Linked DNA regions of Homo sapiens: region 2 is linked to region 1. The links are contacts of gene promoters, found by promoter capture Hi-C in human tissues and cell types (Jung and others, 2019). All regions are on one chromosome and are shown on one strand. The core of a region is centred on a gene start or on the middle of the fragment in contact, and the rest is flanking DNA. Distances in the headings are between cores, read along the strand shown.

Region 1 (2,765 bases), core at 227-2,726:
GGAATTGGGAAGCCACCAAGATAAAGGAAAGGAAGGTAAAAGTGGGTACCCACTCTGTACCAGGCATTTTACACATATGACTTCATTTGATCTTACAATTCCATGTGGTTGGTACTACTGTTTTATTACCACTTTCTAGCTGAAGCTCACAGACTGCAGGAGACAAAGCTAGATGTGAACCCAGGCAATCTGACTTGAGAACCTAAATTCTCATTAAACCACCTGCATTCCAAAGGGGAAGAGCATTAAGGGCTGAATTAAGCCAATGGGCTGGGAAAGCAAACACTCAAAGAAGCCTGGGTCCATCTAGACAGTTCTACCAAGGCAAGAGCACATAAGACCTATCTTCAAACCTCTGGTATTCAAACTACCATCTGCAGGTATTGAGGACCTCTGAGAATAATAGCCAGGTAGATTACCTGACTCGATATGTATAGAGGATTTTAGCTCACTCTGACTCTTACTAGCTGGGGGACCCTAGGCAAGTCACTTGACTTCTCTAGCTCTTAGTTGTTTAATGTATCACTATGCCTGCCACAGTTCACTTGCTAGCAGATAGGCTTGGGTACATCCAGCTTTGGGATCTGAGACCCGGCCCCCTCCCCTGGTTACCATGCCGCTCAGCCTCTGAGCTCACGGGGATGCCATCTTTATCTAGTCGTTGCTTGAACAGGTTGTGTTCCACATCCAGCTGCTGTTCTCCGGCCACATCCATGGCATCAATACTCAGATCTGGAAGCAGGAAAATCAGGCTAAGGTACTGGGACCCTAGGGACAAGGGGATGTGGGTTTTGGAGGGGAAGGGGATACTGGGCCTGTCTTGGGGCAGAACGGGATGAGGAGAAGGAGGTTGTCCTGGGGTCCAGTCCAGAACCTAAGGGTGGAGGTGTGAATCTGGCAGCCCACATGAGAACCCTGGGTCTCTCCAGTCCCACCCATGGTGAGGTACTCACAGGCACAAGGCATGTGCGGAAAAAGTACATCGATGTTGATCTTCAGTTTATCTCCCCGCGACTTGTCCACGTAGAGCTCAGGATGCACCTGGGGCAGCGCTACCTCAGTAAGACTTAGCCCCAAACCTCTCCTTCCCCACTCCCACCCCTAAAGGTCCTACTCCTAGAATGCCAAGCCCCGCCCACGCACTAAGCCCCGCCCCTTACCTCCGTGGTGAGGTAATACTGCAGCTCGGACAGGAACAGTAGCAGCATGAGAAGGCCACTGACAATGGTCACTGCAGGACAAGGGGCGAGGGTCAGAATGGCCTCGAATCCGCTCCCTCAGACACCGGCAGGCCAGTCAGAGTCCAGGAGCCCGGGCTAAGCTCTAGGACGCCCCCCTCCACGCGACCCCGGCCCCGCTGCGGCCTACCGGTGGCGCCCCCGCAGGTCTTGACCCGGAAGTCCTCCAAAGTCTTGGGGTAGGCATCGAACTGCTTCAGCTTCCCCAGCGCCTCCATGGGGACCGGCCGGAAAGGGGACGCCAGCCGGCCCGCCCCTACAGACTCCCTCTTCCGGCCTGGAGCCACGCCCCCCTCTTTTTCCTCACGCAGGCGCAGCAAACCGCACGCTTGGCCCCACCTTTAGCCGCGTTCTCTTACAGGCGGCCCCGCCCAACGATGCTGCCACGCCCCCTTGCGCGGGCAATTGGGTCTGGAAGCTACTGCCCCGGCCTCCGCTGTCCGGGGCGGGATTTTGAGGACTGGGGTGCGAGGAGTTCTCTGCGGGGTTAGAAACGCTAATAGCACCGTTCGTGTGCCTTGTGCTCGGAACTGCACCAGGTGTTTAAGACTCTTGGAACATCTTGGAATATCCTGGAACAGTGGTTTTTCGAGTGTACCGGACCGGCCGCATCATTATCAACTGATTACCTATTAGAAATGCAAATAATTGATTCCCACCTACTGAAGCCGAAACGCTAGGAATGGCATCGGATGATTCTGATGTAAAGTAAGGGTGTCCGCCCTGAAAGCAGGTGTGACTTATCTCCGTTTTCCAAAGAGCAAACTGTGACCTGGAGAAGTTAAATAACTTGCCCAAGATCACAGCCAATTAATAGCAGGACCTGCTTCCAGCCCAGTTCTTCTGGACCTCAAAGTACTCTGGGAATCAGGGTCTTTTGGGTTGATTTTACCTAAACAGCGTCCCAGTGCTTCTCCTGAGCGCTGCTTTCTGAATATTACCCTAAATTGCTCTCCAGGCCCTGGGATCCTCACGGACACGCTCTATCCCTCCAGGTTTAGACTCAAGTGATATGGAGCTTAAGCTCTCCCTGACACTTCCCATTGCAGCCCAGTGTCTCTAGAGGGACAGCTCCCACAGTAATGCAGCTGCAATGAGTAAGATATAAAAGCTCATAGGCTTTCATACAGGAATTCCACTTTAGGAAGTAAAAGCACCATGTCAAGGTTAATAGAAAAATTTTGAAAAAGAAAAAATATGTAAGCAGCTATCCAAGGTTAACAGAAAAAAATTTTAATATAAGGATAAAAGTACCATGATCTGGGTGGTTGTTACACCTTAAGATATTGAATCTGTCTCTTAAAGATTTTAAGTGCACCACATCATAAAGATGTATGCATGAGATTGTTCAATGGCAAAAATCTGGAACCAGCCAGAATGCCCACTGATACATTAAATAAATTGAATAAATCACGATACACCCATTCTATGGAATATTAGGCCACTTTTCAAAAGAATGAGGTAGATTTACTCCTTTAGGTATACTAAGAATGTATTTTTAAGGGGGAAAAGATGCAAAGTAATGTG
Region 2 (2,729 bases), core at 181-2,680, 280 kb after region 1:
CTGCCAGGAACCTAGGAGGTGGTCTAGAGTCCTACTGCCCACTCTGGCCCCAGCGTCACTGGCCTAGGGACACATGGGGGTGGGGATTGTTTGGCCTTCCTGGCTTAGGTCTCTGGAAGAGAGAAGAACCCCATGGGGCAGACCCAGGCCACGGGCAGTACATGCCTCCCACACTACTGACACCGCCAGTGTCTTCTGTGAAGCCACCTTTGAGCAACGGAAAGGAAGGGGGATGGGCAAGATCAGTGCAAGGTTGGCCAAAAGCCTGGGGCTGGCCTTCTGCTGGCATGAGAGGGCCAGGCCGCCCCCAGCTCCTTACTCAGGTCCTGGCCCCTCTGGCAGCAGGGAAGGGTGAGCTCATCGCTGAGCTCCATCCCAAACAAACTGGTAGAGCCAGCGGAAGGCAGCTCTGCTTCCTGGGGTCCAGTCCTGGCTGTGCTCCTGGGCTATTCTATGACCTGGGACAAGCTGTTCAGGGCCTCTGTCTCCTGAGCAGGCTCTTCCCCAGGGGCTGTCCACAGGGAGCTCAGCTGGGAACCAGGGAACACGGCTCTGAGCACTGTGGGAGACTCAAAACCTTTGTCCGCAGCCTTGTCTCTTGCTCTTTTAACCCCTGTTCTGGGTCTGCAGAGAACAGGAGTGACCCCTTAAAGGAAAGAGGCCTGTGGTTTGGGTCCAGGAACCAAAAGGAAGGGAAGAGCGAGGGAGCCAGTATCCTGCTGCACAGAAACCCAAGAGAGCCCTGAGGGGGAGACAGAGGGAGCAGGGCAGGGGCAGGAGGACTCCCTGAGCTTGTGAGGTGAAGGCAGAGGTATGAGGAGGAGAGGCCTGCTATGAGGACCCCATGCTCCATGGGCAGGAGGCTGCTAGGGTCTTCACTCTTCAAGAGGGTGAGCGGCAGGGAAGCAGAGTGGTCAGGAATGCAGTCTCTGGGAGCCAGACTGCCTGGTTTTGAATCCCAGCTCTGCCATGTCCTAGCAGTGTGACATTTTAAATTCTTCCTCTGGAAGATAGAAGGAACAATGGCACCTTCGTCATAGGGATGTGGGTGAAGATTCATGGGGCAGGGTGTGTAATGCGCTGATACCAGCTCCTGGTACAGAAGTATTACCCTTCATTAGCAGGGTCCTGTTGAGCTGTGTGTGAGCACCAGCACCCCTGATAGGGTGTGTTCCTGTAAGTCCCTGGGCCTCCGAGCAAGTCCCCAGCAGTCTACTCGGCTACTCAAGTGGACCTTGTCTCTGCCTCATTTCTTTCTTTTAGGATCTCCATATTTGGTCGTTCCCATCTCATTAACTCCCCCAGCCCCACGAAAGGTGATAGCATTTCCCTTTGCCTCTGTTCTTCTGCCAGTGCTGCCCCTTCCCCTGGAATAACCTGATTCCTTCAAAGTTCAGCTCCATGCCTGTCTTCCAGGAAGCCTTCCATGACTTCCCAGCTGGCAGTGAGTGCTCCTTCTGCTGTGCCCTCCCAGCAGTTTCCCTGAACTGCCTTTATGGCACTGACCGCTTCCTCCCCACGTGATTGCCACTAGTGCACATGCTCGCTGCCCCAGGACTGTGGGTTCCTTGAGGACAAGCTTTGTGTTGAAGAACCAGGTGACAGCCCCCGGAATGGAACAGCGCCAAAAGCACCGTATTTTACCAAGGGAAATACTCGGACCACCTGCAGCAGAACCACCTGTGGTGACTTAAAAATGCGGAGTCCTGGGGTCACACCTGGCTCTGCCACTTTCCAAAGGGGTGAATTTCCTATTTTTTTAAAAAGTATTTTCTTTCTTTTTTATTTTTGAGACAGGATCTCACTCTGTCACCCAGGTTGGAGTGTAGTGGTGCAATCTCGGCTCACTTGAACCTCCGCCTCCCGGGTTCAAGCCATTCTCCTGCCTCAGCCTCCCGAGTAGCTGGGATTACAGGCATGTGCCACCACACCCGGCTAATTTTTGTATTTTTAGTAGAGACGGGGTTTTGCCATGTTGGCCAGGCTGGTCTCGAACTCCTGACCTCAGGTGATCTGCCCCCCCTCGGCCTCCCAAAGTGCTGGGATTACTCCAGTGCTCCCATCGCACCTGGCCCGGGGAGCCTTTTAAACACATGGAGGAGGTGGGGAAGATATTCTGATTCAGGAGGTTTGGTTTGGGACGTAGGCAATCTTTTTTGTTGTTTTTTTTTTTTAAGTTCTCCAGGTGAATTGTATAATGGTTGGGTCAGGCTGACACAACCTGAAGCAAATGCTCGACCTCAACATCACTAAAAGTGGGACAGTCTGCATCATATGTATTTGCTAATATGGTGAATAGGAAGTACCAGCACCACCTAGGAAGTATTCTTGCCAAAAAAATTGAACTTGAATCTAGTCAGCCTGTAAATCTAATGAACAACATTCAGGAATTATGGGCAAGAGAGACGTATTAAAAGTAAACTTGATTCTAGTCACGCCAAATGATTATACTCGGGACACCTGACCCAGTTTCTTCAACAAATATATGGAGGGAAACGTGTGTGTAGGACGGGGGTGTTTTAAATAAAAAGGGCTTTAAGAGACATGTCAGCCATGTGTGTGTGGATCTTGTTTGGATCCTGATTCAAGCAAACAACTGTAAAAGACATTTCCAAGGTACTTTGGGAAAGTGAACTCGAACTGGGTATTAGATTTTAAAAAATTATTGTTAATTTTGTTGGGCTTGATAATGATTGTGTGCTTATGTTAAAAATTAGCCTTTATCTGTT

What was found. Contacts are between HindIII fragments. The study calls those that stand out against the background at their distance.
Region 2: a contact is called between a fragment that was not itself captured here and the fragment with the promoter of ERGIC3 in region 1, in 2 of the 25 tissues and cell types used here (IMR-90 fibroblasts and spleen).

Annotation. Positions count from the first base shown.
Region 1 is chr20:35,540,789-35,543,553 of GRCh38, reverse strand. It overlaps ERGIC3 (ERGIC and golgi 3), which reads right to left and starts at 1,476. Exons shown (of 13, transcript NM_015966.3): 1 at 1,369-1,476; 2 at 1,161-1,231; 3 at 954-1,041; 4 at 613-732. The coding sequence starts at 1,456. RefSeq lists an enhancer at 1,715-1,804. The HindIII fragment of the contact is 35,337 bases long and covers 1-2,765 here.
Region 2 is chr20:35,258,242-35,260,970 of GRCh38, reverse strand. All of the region lies in intron 2 of MMP24-AS1-EDEM2 (MMP24-AS1-EDEM2 readthrough), which reads left to right. The region is part of intron 4 of MMP24 (matrix metallopeptidase 24); the gene reads right to left. Among named protein-coding and RNA genes, the nearest start is that of MMP24-AS1-EDEM2, 19 kb to the left of the region's middle. The HindIII fragment of the contact is 5,720 bases long and covers 1-2,729 here.